3 separate regions of the Homo sapiens genome follow, and regions 1 and 3 are each linked to region 2. The links are contacts of gene promoters, found by promoter capture Hi-C in human tissues and cell types (Jung and others, 2019). All regions are on one chromosome and are shown on one strand. The core of a region is centred on a gene start or on the middle of the fragment in contact, and the rest is flanking DNA. Distances in the headings are between cores, read along the strand shown.

Region 1 (4,515 bases), core at 1,691-4,190, 88 kb before region 2:
AAAATTCATTGACCTGACTTTGTCAAAGTCAATATTTTCCTCATAAGACAGTATATCCATATGTTTACTGAACCACAACCTCACTTTTTGTACTGTTCTACATATTCCAGATGTCTTATAGTTAAAGAATATTAGAGTCAGAAGGAGGCTTAGCCCAAATCCTTCAATTTCCAGGCGAGGAAATTGAGTCTCACTGAGAGTGAGAGACTTGCCTTAATTATTACGCTTGCCCCACTATCATGCTGGTGGAAAAGGATGCTTGTTTAAATTTAGTCTACTCTTCTCGCCACCATTTCCCTGCCTTATTAAATATTTTGAAAATTGTCTTCTAAATGCAGAGAAAACTTACTGTTTAAAAAAACTCCTATGAGCAATATAGAATTCTATAACCTAAGAGCCATGTGTGAAAGGGGAACAATAACCAAAATCTAGTGACAAATTATGCACATTTATATTTGAACGATTTTTCAGACAAAACTCATGCCAGTTTAGTCTGGTAGATTATTGCAGTAATGGCTCCCTATGTTGCACATTTCTCTGTGTCCACACTTTCCGGTAGTGCCTCCCACTCTGCCTTTAAAATTGGCCATGTGATTTACTTTGGCCAATGGGACAATAGCAATCCTGAGAGTAGCAGAGATTGACATGTGTGCACACATTGGGCCTTGCCATCACTTGTTGCTCTTTGGAATGCTAAGATCACATGTGAAAAAGCCCAGGCTAGCCTACTGGAGGATAAGTCATGCCAGCTGAGGCCCCCTTCCCTTGACCAACCATCCTCCCAACCCCAAACATGTGGGTAAGGCCATCCTGGATCATCCGTCCCTAGCTGAGTCCTCAGCTGACCTCAGAGATCAGCTAAACTGACTCAGACAAGAAGAACCACCCAGTTGACCCACAGACTCACAATTAATAATACATGTTTGTTTTTACAGGTTCCTAAGTTTTGGGGTAGTTTAAGAGACAGTAAGGCTATGACTGAAAAACATAGAGAACAATATATAAAATAGGCAAGAGGGAAATTCCAGGTTAATCTGTGGAGTCTGGCAATTCTTAAATAGTTCCCAAAATAAAAACCATCCAATGCCTCTTATCTTTAGAGGTGATAGAAGTTTGCATATAACAGTAACTTCTGATAAAGAATTTCGCATATTCCACTGGGAGACGGTTAGGAAAAGACAAAATATGAATCTTATCTGATGGGAGCAATAAAGCTCTGACCAATGGAAGCTCAAATCCTGAAACCGTTGATTCAGACCACCGTGGATTGACTAGGCTGGACCTCCTTAATTATTTGATCATTATTAATTCATAAGTATTTATATCATTCATAGTATTACTCTCAGTTTAGATGAAGTTGTTTAATTTGTTGATGGAGAAAGTTAAAATCCAAAGTTAAACAATCTGATCTGTAAGGCAGTACCAGCTAATGTCTGTACCAAGGGAGTGGACAGATTGGTTAGGAGCTCACTGGGTATCAGATATGACATAGTATGGAGCATGAGGTTAAAAAAACTGAACAATGCATCTACATTGACATGGACAGGAGAAGGCTACATTGTTAATTGTATGATTAAACTAAAGTTAAAAACTTTCTTCAATCTCATTGACCTCCTGAGTGATACTGGCACATGCTCTGGTAATCCCTGTTCTACTCTACATTCAAATACAGAGCAAAACACAAATAAAAACATGTGCCACATTTAGAGAAAATATTCCAACTTTGTCCATGTGGAGTAGCATAAGAAGTAGGAACAATGATTCCCAGAATAAAATAATCTGAAAATACACACACACACACACACACACACACACACACACACACGGACATTACATATGTACTCATTTGCATACGATTTTATTGTTTTCAAAACAACCATACAAATACAAATAAATAAAATATATTTCTCTCTTTTTTCTTTTCTTTTCAGACAGGTTCTCATTCTGTCACCCAGGCTGGAGTGCAGTGGTACCATCTAGGCTTACTGCAACCTCCATGTCCCAGGCTCAAATGATTCTCCTGCCTCAGCCTCCCAAGTTGTTGGGACTACAGGGATGTGCCACCATGCCTGGCTAATTTTTGTATATTTTGTAGAGATAGGGTTTTGCCATGTTGCCAAGGCCGGTCTTGAACTCCTGGACTCAAGTGATCCACCTGCTTTGGCCTCCCAAAGTGCTGGGTTTACAGGCATGAGCGACTGCACCTGGCCCAAAATACACTTCTCTACAATATATCTGTTAACTCTAGATTTTATATGCCATTAACATCTGTAGGTCATTAACACTTTGGTAAATTTATAAGTATCTTATGCTCTTTAAATATGTCCTGTGAGGCTGGGCGCAGTGGCTCATGCCTGTAATCCCAGCACTTTGGGAGGTCGAGGCGGGCGGATCACGAGGTCAGGAGATTGAGACCATCCTGGCTAACACGGTGAAACCCTGTCTCTACTAAAAACACAAAAAATTAGCCGGGCATGGTGGCACGCGCCTGTAGTCCCAGCTACTCGGGAGGCTGAGGCAGGAGAATGGCGTGAACCCGGGAGGCGGAGCTTGCAGTGAGCCGAGATCGCTCCACTGCACTCCAGTCTGGGCGACAGAGCGAGAATCCGTCTCAATAAATAAATAAATAAATAAATAAATATCCCCTGTGAAAAGAGTGCTGTGTAGATTTTTAAAAAATATCTAAATGCTCATGAGCTTACATAGGGTTAGAATTGAGTGGTAATATGCACAAACCATGTGAATAGCTTTTTATAGCGGAGAAAAAAGGGACTAGTTGACGGTATAGTACCAATGAGGCTGTTCTTCATAATCTAATGGTCAGGACAAGGCAAAAGGTAGACTATAGCTATCAGCTGCCTTCTGTCTAACACAGAATTCAGAAGGAGGAGAGGACTTTACCAAGATTACCAAAAGGCACTACATTTTCAGTTTGACAACTTCGGAATAATTTGTGACCTGGTTGAAAAATCTGATAGCAGACACCTGCTTACATTAAAAGAAAATAAAAGTGTGGGGTTTTATATAGAATATGTTACTCAACCTTTGGAGAACTCCATTTGCTTTTGTATTTTCATATATTTTTACTCTTTCAGTCCTTGATATATTTTGAGATTATGCTAGGGAGAGTAGTTCCCAAAATTTGGAATAAAAAGGCCTGCTTTGGAACAGGTAAGTTTTCAGACCCATCCTGAGTCGTACTTTTGGAAGCTGTTGATGGGGAGGATTAACAATTATAAAATGCTATCGATGCACTCAGTAAAACATCACATTTGAAAAATGGCTGCATTTATCTATTTGAGATAATAGTTATTTAGTCTGAAGGCAATACTTAGTGTGGGTATAGGTTGGGTGGCTCTGCCATTACCCTGAAGATCTCTGGCTGGACCACTGCATTAGGGCTGAGATTGGACGGGGGATGGGGACCCAGTCCACCTGAGCCCTGGGTGTATCATCACTTTCAACACATTCCATAGCATTTGTTTTTGCATCGTTGTTTTGTATCCAACAACACAACTTCCCATCCATTGATAGCCAGTCCTAGTGCCAGAAGCTTTCATTAGCATAACTGGCTATCCACTCTAAAGGCAGCTCCCAGACTCATTCTGTGGCTCCTGCCTCCCTTTTTCCTATAGCTCCATGAGTCTGAGGGTCTATGACAGTAGCCACTATCTCCATTACCAATGATGTATTTCCAATACCAACAAACAATGACTTCAAATAGAATAAACTAAAGTCTTGCTGGGTGTGTTCCATTAATGGCTTTCTGTCCTCTGTGATACTGGGCTGAAATGAAGATCAGTAGACTCTGGGCTCTGAGAACCAACAGATAACCTTTCTGATGCAATAAACGGCATGGTGAAAGTCCCAGACTGCTCTTTAGAACCAAGCATACCACACTTCCTGCAGAAATAATAAGAAACTAACATTTAAATGAGTACTGACTATAAGCTGAACATTGTAGTAAGTCCTGTTTTATCTATTATCTCATTTAATCTTCACAACAACCCTATAAGTAATTATGCTATCATAATACCCATTTTGCATAAGAAAACTGAGAGGCATAGAGAGGATAAATATTTTGCCCAAGGTTATGCAGCGAGTACAACTCCAGACAGACTGGCTCCCAAGGAACTCTCTACCACTCCATCATACTATCTATACATGCGCAGTAATGACATAGCGGTATTTAAAAAAGCTACAACAAAACCCACATAATTGGTAAGACCGCACAGGGAATAGCAATAAAATTCTGCATGACTTGCTGCACTGAGCCTACCAGTAATAGCCTATTTCATGATATTAATATTTTTTAATTCTCAGCTTCTCCAGCCAAAGTCTCAAGGTTAGAGAAAGTGTTTATGGCTGTCAAGACTGGCACACAGACAGATAGCACAAGCTAAGTCCTCTGAAATGTTATCTCACAGAAAAAGTTGCATTTTTGTACCCGTTCTACACAAAGACAACATTTGCATAAGCTTGAGCAACACCATCAAAGTGCTCAGTCTGTCTGCT
Region 2 (4,690 bases), core at 806-3,305:
CACCGGGTGCGGGAGGGAGTGGGAGTGAGACCCGCTGCCTCCTGGGGTGCTCCTCTAGGGGCGTAGGGGGACTGGGTGGGAGAGGATCACTTTCAGTGGAAGGAGGAGACCAGTGATTGCATCCCAACTCTCCCAAGTGCTCCCTGCCTAGACCACCTCTCTCCGGGTCTGGGATGCAAGAAGGTCTGGAGCTGGCCGTTACTAACTTTCTGTTGTCAAGACCCAGGGGTACGTGCGAAGGATAGAGAAGAGCCCCCGATTAACCGCTGTGTGGCCAGGAAGAGGGACTGGGAGTGGGGGTGGGTGCCCAGAGCTTGCACAGATCCCCATGTCAAGCGGACACCCGCCTGGCTCTTCAGTAAAAGAGTGAAGAAAGGCCGAGCACAGCGCGAAGGAAACCTGAGGTCTCCGGCAAGGCAGGAGAGGAGACCAAGTGACTCCCCGAAACCCACCCTCCAGCCCTTCGAGAGGCCCAGAGTCCAGCCGGAGCAAGCGTAACGCTACAGTCCCTGGCGCGCATCCCTGCAGACCCCAGCTCGCCCCGGGGTCCCGCCGCCGCCGCCGCCACCGCCTGCGACTGCGAGGGTCCTGGCCCGAGGGTGCACCAGCACCTCCTTCCACTACCGGCCCTTTATCTGACAAAAGAGCCGGAGCCCATGACTCTCCGACTGTGAGCAGTGTGGCCTTTCCAAGCCTCCAGAACTTTCTCATTACAACTTTTCCGGGGTCGCACTACTCCCTGGGCCGCGCGGGCTCGGGCACGAGGACCTGGCCAGGGCGCAGCGCCGGCACGAAGGCGCGCGCCGCAGAACTGTTTCCTCAGCCGCGTGCCGGGGAACTAACTGTTTCCTCAGCCGCGTCCAGCCTCGCAGCACTGCTCTTCTGCTTGCTACTCCAGCGAAGGGACATGCCTGCTGGCCAGGACGCTTAGTGGGCCTCGTAACCTGGCGAGTGTGTGCCCGCGCGTGTCCACCCTGCCCCCGGCCGGTGCGCCCCGCGCGCCCAAACCCGGCCGGCGACCACTGCGCGCCGGGCGCTTCCAAACTGCTCCTGTCCAGAGGCATCCCTCTTTCGGCTTTCTCCATCCCGCGTCCGCTTCCGCACCCGAGAGCGACAAGCAAAAAAGATTCAGTGCAACTCAAGGACTGGTAAGAACCAACTAGCCTGTCTCCCCTCTCCAAAAAAGCGCCCTCCCGCGTCCCTCCAGAACTCCCGAAAGACATCAACACCTTCCCGCAACTTTCTACGCCCAGGCCATTTGCAGCCCCACCTGCGAGAGCGAATTCGGGGAACTGCGCCTGGGCAACCTCTTTCCCTTTCTGCTGGGTGCCCTCCCCTCCCCCATCTCCCCGTCTGGCTGGAGTTGGCCGGACTCGGGGAGCCTCGGTGCCCGCAGACTCGCTTACCTCGCATGGTGTGGCCGCTCTCCCGCTCCGCGTAGTCATGAAGCTGCTCCCAGCCCGAACCCCGGAGAGCCCAAAAATCCCGCTCAGCACGAGTGAAGAAGGTGGTCGGCGAAGAGCTGCTCTGCCGAGAAAACCATCCCTTTAGGCGGACGCCGTGGCTGCAGGGTGACGTTTGCCGCCGCCGCCGCTATGTTAACAGTTTTGATGTTGGTGGTGACTGTTTTGATGATTGTTTGTTTGTTTGTTTGTTTTCAGGAAGGGTGAAAAAAAAATGTTCTGGCTGTCTGGTGCCTGGGTTTTGTTTTGGTTTTGTTTTTCTTTTTCTTTCTCTCCAATGTGCTTGCTTTTTAAAAAATGCCACCGCCTCCGGCTCAGAAGATTTCTTTTGTGATCACTTGGACTGAGGAGGAGGAGGAAGGGCAGCAGCAGGAGGAGGAGTTGGTGGTGGTTTTGTTAGTTACAAAGAAGAGGGAGAAGGAACAAGGGGGAAAAAAGGAAACAGAAAGAAAAGAAAGAAAGGCGGTGTGGATGGCAGAGCATGTGCGTTTTCACATGACATCTGTGCCTGTTAGCGGATCCACAATGTGAATTTTCACTGTTCAGTTACAGGGAGGAAGGGAGCAGCGAGAGAGAAAGAGAGGGGAGAGATGGAGAGAGAGCGCTGAGAGGGGCTTATACGCGAGGGCGGGCTTGGCCGCGACTTCCAGGCCCCGCCTGCTGTCAGCGCAGCCGCCAATCAGAGCCCAGCAGCGCCTGGAGAGGCTGGGACCGCGGGGAGGGGACGTGGTGGAGGCGGGGGGTGGGGCGGGGGCTGGGGACCAGGGAGTCCGAGGTGGCCGGGGCTGCGACGGGGAATTCGAGACTGTCCGAACTGGGCAGAGAAGAAGGGCCGACCGGGAGAGTCGGGCAGATCCGCAGGTGACAGGCACTTCCGACTCCAGCAGAGAAGGGGACACTGATCACGGAAAACCTTCGGAGGCAAGAGACGCGGGGCTCCCCGGGTTTCACGTTCGGTCCCTGTCTCGCAACCCCCGCGGGCCCGGCAGAGTTAGTTTTGAATTTATGGCAGCGCTTTGCCGAGCGCTATTTGGGTAAACTTCGGTCTCCGGCGGGGGTTTCCGTGGGCAGGTGGTTTGGGTGTTGGTGGTAGAATAATGCAAACCCACTTTCATCACTTTTAGCACAACTAAAATGCAGTCCCATGGAAGTAGCTGTCCCCTTCCTTTAAAAACGTCCGTCAGATGCTCCCTGACCCTCTTCTAAAAAAAAAAAAAAAAGAAAGAAAGAAAGAAAAAAACGTGTATATGTTCTTTTGTCTGGGAAATTGATTTTTATTAGCATTTGGAGACTCCCCTGGCGATGGACTACAGGACTGAAGGAGAACAGCTCAAATTGGCGGTGTAGCCACCTTACTAATTCAAGAGAAATGGCTGTTGCTAGAAGGTGTGATTGCAGGGTGCTCTTTAGAAAGGTTTTAGAAGGAAGACATTGTTAACTTTAGTTAGAGGCGATTGGTAACTGAACATAGATAAACTTACTTGTATTCCTTAGGTGAAAATTGTCATCTATGACCATTTATTTGTATTTTGATAAAAATCTAATACATATATCCAAACTGTTCCTTTGCAAGTTTTTCCAACTCAGTTGACAAAATAAGCATATAGATGATTACATCTACTTCCTTCCCAATAGTAGGGAACTTCTTAAATACTTGAGTTAATTGAACACCCTAAAAGATTGGGAGGTGAAAATATTTGCCTCATTCACTCAGTCTTGAGGCTGGGAGATGTCTACTCATTAGCATACCTGTTGGCACAGCAGGCCTCATCATCATTTAAGTATCCAAATAATTTGATTTTTGACTGGTATTTATTCATGATATGTCATGTAACACAAAGTACAATGTAGAATTGGCAGTTATTTAGTTAATTAGGTCGCTCTACACTGCCAAGTAGTTTTTTCCTTCCTGATTAAATGAAAAATGAATTATCTGCTGAATTTTCACCAGTATTAAATTGACGTAGCCCTGCTATATGCCATCCCATTTGCAAACCAATGTGTAATTTAGGAAAATTTTAGTATTAAGAGTGAAAGTTGATTGAGTCATTAATTAAATGAAATGAACAAAAGGAAGTTACTGTTTAGAATAGTTATTCCTTTATAAATATCTTTCTCCTAGATTTGTAATTGACACAGTAGTTAATCTTTTAAGATAATATTTAAGGCTCCCTGGTTTTATCATTTTTAATCAAGTAAAATATATTCATCATAACTATGTTAAAGCTGTACAAAGTTATGCCTAATTTAGTTGCTTCATTAAAAATTACTGAATATAAAATAGTCAAGAAACAAATTGTGACTATATCATTTTAATTTTGTTGCTTCAAGCAGAGACACAAGAATATTGAAAATTCCAAAGGCTTTGTAAACATTGTCTAATTATTATTGTTGTTGTTATCATTTTAGATTTCTATTTCTCTTTAGAGTGAACAGGAATTTCAAAATCCAAAAATTTAAACATTTATGTAATTTTAACTTTCTAAACATTTATTGAATTCTGAATTTTTTTTTAATGCTGCAATATCTGTAATCCTTGAAAAAGGTAGTCAACACGTGTATAAAAAGTATTTACCCCCCCATACATTTTTATATTCTCTTTATTTTGTGGTTTCAGCAAGGCATAATTTTGCTTAGAACATATTTCTTAATTCCTTCTGAGTATTTTTGGAGAAATTATTAATTAGAAGACTATATTATTTCATTTTTCAAAACTATGTATATAATCTCTATATATGGTGATACAAAAGTATGTATTTTCTCTTTAAATGCTAATCATTGGTTATAATGTGGCGGCCTGGGACATTTTGGATCTTTCTAAAAATTTAAAAACTGGTTTGTTGAATATTTCTAATAATTTTCACATTTATTTCACTGAATGGAGCCCATTTATTTAAAATAAATATTAAGAATTTGAATGAAAGAAGTCAGTATTTTCTAAGAACTCACAAAGCACATATATATAATCTGATGGTTTTGTAACCTATCTGCCAGCAAATAATCATATTTCAAGTGGCATAATAATAATACATTACTGTAATGTCCTAGCTCATATGAAGTACGGTATCAGTAATTTTATTTGAATGATTATGTCTGGTTTCCTATAAGCTTGAAACTCTGCTTTTCACTCTGGGCCTGAAGGATTTTCTAAGTTGACAGTTGCATGTTGATTAATTTAAATGACAATCAGTCACATAGCACTGTCCTCAATCTCAAGAATTGACATC
Region 3 (4,144 bases), core at 874-3,373, 70 kb before region 2:
CCTGCCTATGGCTACACTATACACTATATACTTTAATATATATTTACATTCCCAATGTCTTTGAGTACAGTCTTCTTAACAGCAGAGTTAAAAAAAGCATCTCATGTATTCATAAAAACTAAGAAAAATAAACACAAGCTTTATAAGATAAAGCTTGAAATAATGACAGATATACCATTGTATTAATTAATGACCTCCCAATTTGGACTTGCATAACAATAATAACAATTCCATTTTATAATGATCTATTAAGAATTTTTTTCATTTGTGTCTGGTGACTGAAATACATTCATATATGGTTATTTACACTATAATATATCAATGGTTTATATTTATCCTAGCAACAACCTGTTCAGCTAACAAAAACCTTAACATTGGTACATTCATACTAACGTTTCTAGCTAAACATATTATGTTTTCTTAGAAGAAGAGTTCTTCTAATAAGGGCTTTTTTGAGTGTATGATTTTTAATATTTGATAAAAGATGAAAGATTTTCATAACTTTAGAACTGTGACACTATAAATATCTTGAGGAAACTGCAAATATTTTAATATACATTTATACTTATAAATATGATTTTAGGTTTAGATTTTAAATGTTCATTTCACTCTAGGTGATAATGCTAGTTCAAACTATTGTAATATTTTTAAAGACAAACTTCCAGTTAATTTTCTTTTTTTCTTTTTTTTTTTTTTTGAGATGGAGTCTTTCTTTGTCGCCCAGGCTGGAGTGCAATGGCGCGACCTTGGCTCACTTCAACCTCTGCTTCCCGGGTTCAAGTGATTCTCCTGCCTCAGCCTCCCGAGTAGCTGGGATTATAGGTGCCCACCACCACACCTGGCTAATTTTTGTATTTTTAGTAGAGACGGGGTTTCACCATCTTGGCCAGGCTGGTCTTGAACTCCTGACCTCATTATCCACCCACCTCGGCCTCCCAAAGTGCTGGGATTACAGGCGTGAGCCACCGTGCCCGGCTCCGGTTTAATTTTCTTAAGAAAAGAATTGATTGCTGCTCTCACAGTCATATTTATTGTGCTAATTTTCATCATTTTAGGTGACCTCTCTCTATCCCTTATATAATGACCTAAAAAAATCACAATAATTTTTTTGAGTTTCTATTTTCAAAAAAAAAAATACATAAATAGATGCTCTAGGCCAATATGGAAGCAAAATACTTTTCACCTGAATCAAGCAGCTTTTGTGAGTGTTGTCCAGTACGGAATTTTATTTTATTTTGTCTTGTGTGTCAAAACTGTACCCACTTAACATGTGAAAGGTGTTATAAAAATTTGGAATATTGAGCTCTGTTTCGAATATTGACAGCAGGAAGAATTGGGAATGATGTGTTAGATTATTAACCAGGATAATTTGTCCATTTAAATTACAGATTTGCGGTTAATGAACACATATAAAGCCTCTTGAGTTGCTAAAACCCTGGGTTGTAAAAATAAAATGACACTAGGCTTGAAAGCTCTATGACAAGTCACCTGGCAGTTCTTGATGCTTCCTCTGGAATTCGTCAAAATGTGTTTTCTTTCATGGCACTTCCATTCCAAAGAAAGCACACATACATGCAATGCCTTCGAATGAAAGGAACCACTCGCTCAGAGAGAGGAATACTTCAGAGTTTTGAAAATGGGACTGCTGAGTCTTTATCTTTCATAAGTGGTACCATTTTCCTTACGAGTGGGAACAAAGTCTCAGAATGAGGGGAGACTGTGGTGCTGAATTAAATTCAATTTAATAGATCCTGTTAAAACTATGGTTTCTATTAAACCATAGGATCTATTACAACTATGGTTTCAGTGGAGACCCTCATTTCCCCCTACATTTATCATGTTCCTGTTTCTGAGAGCTGTGACATTGGGGAACTTGACTTTTCTGTCCTTGCCATTACCTACTCTGAATTCCTATCCCTTTCCCTATCTTGGTTATGTGAGCTCAGCAACCAAGAAGAAAATGTGAAGGTTCAATTCAATGTTGTCTTGTGTCAATCTCTGTTTCCTTCCTTTGGAATCCATCCAGCTTTCCTGGGACTAGAGAGGGTCCTCTCAAGTAGAGGGCATTCCGACCAGACGCGGTGGCTCACACCCATAATTCCAGCACTTTGGGAGGCCAAGGCGGGTGGATCACTTGAGAACAGGAGTTCAAGACCAGCCTGGGCAACATGGTGAAACCTCGTCTCTACTAAAAATACAAAAAATTAGCCGGGTGTGGTGGTGTGTGCGTGTATTTCCAGGTAGTCGGGAGGTTGAGACGGGAATCCCTTGAACCCGGGAGGCAGAGGTTGTAGTGAGCCGAGATCACGCCGTTGCACTCCAGCCTGGGCGACAGAGCGAGCCTCTGTCTCAGAAAAAAAAAAAGGGTGGGGTGGGCATTTGTTGCCCCAAATGAGGTAGGCAAGCAACAGCTTTTGGAAAACCAAAACCCACAGAAACTTCTGGGTTATTTTAGGTTCCTACATAGAAAGAAAAGTCACATAAACAAATGACAACGTCAGTATGGCTGAATAACTGAAATACTAATGACATCTCTGATTTATTTGGGGCTATCAGCCTTATATCTTACCCTGCTTCTTTATTTTATTTATTTATTTTTTTGAGATGGAATCTCGCCCTGTTTCCAGGTTGGAGCGCAGTGGCACCATCTCAGCTCACTGCAACCTCCACCTCCTGGATTCAAGTGATTCTTTTGCCTCACTCTTGCGAGTACCTGGGACTACAGGTGCATGCCACCACACCCAGCTAATTTTTGTGTTTTTAGTAGAGACGGGGTTTCACCATGTTGGCCAGGCTAGTCTCGAACTCCTGACCACAGGTGATCCACCCACCTCGGCTTCCCAAAGTCTTGGGATTACAGGTGTGAGCCACTGTGCCCGGCCGGAAGGGCTTATTTTATAAAAGATGAAGATTTGGAGAAGAAGATGTAAAGAACCACTGTGGAAACACAAAACTGTTGATAGTAGTAGAGACAGAATAATACAACTAATACAACTAACAAAATAATAGAAAATAACATAAATAATATGTTCTCAAAACATGAGAAGAAATGTATATGCATTATCTAGTATCTTCCCAACAACTCTATGAAGCAGAATGACTTTGAGATTCTAACTTAAAAAGTTTAGATTTCATAGAGCCAGAAAAAAATGAATTGCTGTAAAAGCTTTTGATGAAAGGCAATAATGGAGAGCATATTTGGGCTAATGGATTTCCCTGGTCTTGGATTTTATCATTTCCTCACTCTTCCTTTCATCGTTTGAGGTGACAGGGGTTGGTAAAGGACAGCAGAGGAAGGAAGCAGATTTACCATTGCCCTCAATAAGTAGCACATACATTGATGACTATGGTCTTTTTCACCCATATTAATACTTCATCAGTGCCTGAGAGCAATACTGAAATGTATGAAGTATTTTTACACAACCCATTGAATGAGGAATTTTAGGATTGGAGATCATCAGAACATCTTGTTCAAAGAGCACTTGTCATTAATCAGGGAAGTTTTAATTCGAATTAGGCAATTCTGATATTCATGTAAGAGACATGAAGGGGACTCTGACTTAAGTCTAAGTATAGATGATGAAAGTAGGAGATCTCACTCAACAGCATATCTGTAGGATAATCACATATAACCTGAAAAAGATTTATTTTGCCAACACACAAGCAGAAAAGCTTAAATAAAAATGTATGAAAAAGAAGATGCTTTTTAGGGAAAGGCATGGTCTAAGATATTAAGACAAGTTTTTACATTTCACTTTTTGAATAAATGTAAAGATAAATAATTTTCATCTTAACTTCACAATTGATAAATTTAACTACTTAGGGGTCACACGTCTACTTATCAAATTAAAAGTAAACAAAACCACTTTGATCTCTAAGGTACAGAATGCTTATGAAAATTTTGATGCTGATATTTGCCAGCAAAAATGAGAGCTGGCAATGAACAGTGACGAAACTCATCATTTATGTGATGTTACTCAACATATTGATTTTGAAGTGAATATGTCTCAAAGATTCATTGTTCTCCTACTCAAAGTTACTAGATGTTAAACCAAAGAAGAAACAGTTAGAAATCCACCTGTTGGTTCTCTCTAGCAATTCTCAAACAGTAATTTTATTTGTATAAATTTGTGAATAAGTGGAA

Evidence for each region. Contacts are between HindIII fragments. The study calls those that stand out against the background at their distance.
Region 1: a contact is called between a fragment that was not itself captured here and the fragment with the promoter of RORB in region 2, in 2 of the 25 tissues and cell types used here (hippocampus and thymus).
Region 3: a contact is called between a fragment that was not itself captured here and the fragment with the promoter of RORB in region 2, in 3 of the 25 tissues and cell types used here (H1 embryonic stem cells, dorsolateral prefrontal cortex and hippocampus).

The regions. Positions count from the first base shown.
Region 1 is chr9:74,583,911-74,588,425 of GRCh38, reverse strand. The region is part of intron 1 of RORB (RAR related orphan receptor B); the gene reads right to left. Among named protein-coding and RNA genes, the nearest start is that of RORB-AS1, 88 kb to the right of the region's middle. The HindIII fragment of the contact is 7,443 bases long and covers 1-4,515 here.
Region 2 is chr9:74,494,700-74,499,389 of GRCh38, reverse strand. It overlaps RORB (RAR related orphan receptor B), which reads right to left and starts at 2,055. Exons shown (of 10, transcript NM_006914.4): 1 at 1,407-2,055. The coding sequence starts at 1,413. It overlaps RORB-AS1 (RORB antisense RNA 1), which reads left to right and starts at 837. Exons shown (of 5, transcript NR_125791.1): 1 at 837-1,148. RefSeq lists an enhancer at 1-153 and silencers at 1,823-2,117, 2,022-2,211, 2,207-2,419. The HindIII fragment of the contact is 7,823 bases long and covers 1-4,690 here.
Region 3 is chr9:74,565,253-74,569,396 of GRCh38, reverse strand. All of the region lies in intron 1 of RORB (RAR related orphan receptor B), which reads right to left. Among named protein-coding and RNA genes, the nearest start is that of RORB-AS1, 69 kb to the right of the region's middle. The HindIII fragment of the contact is 3,953 bases long and covers 147-4,099 here.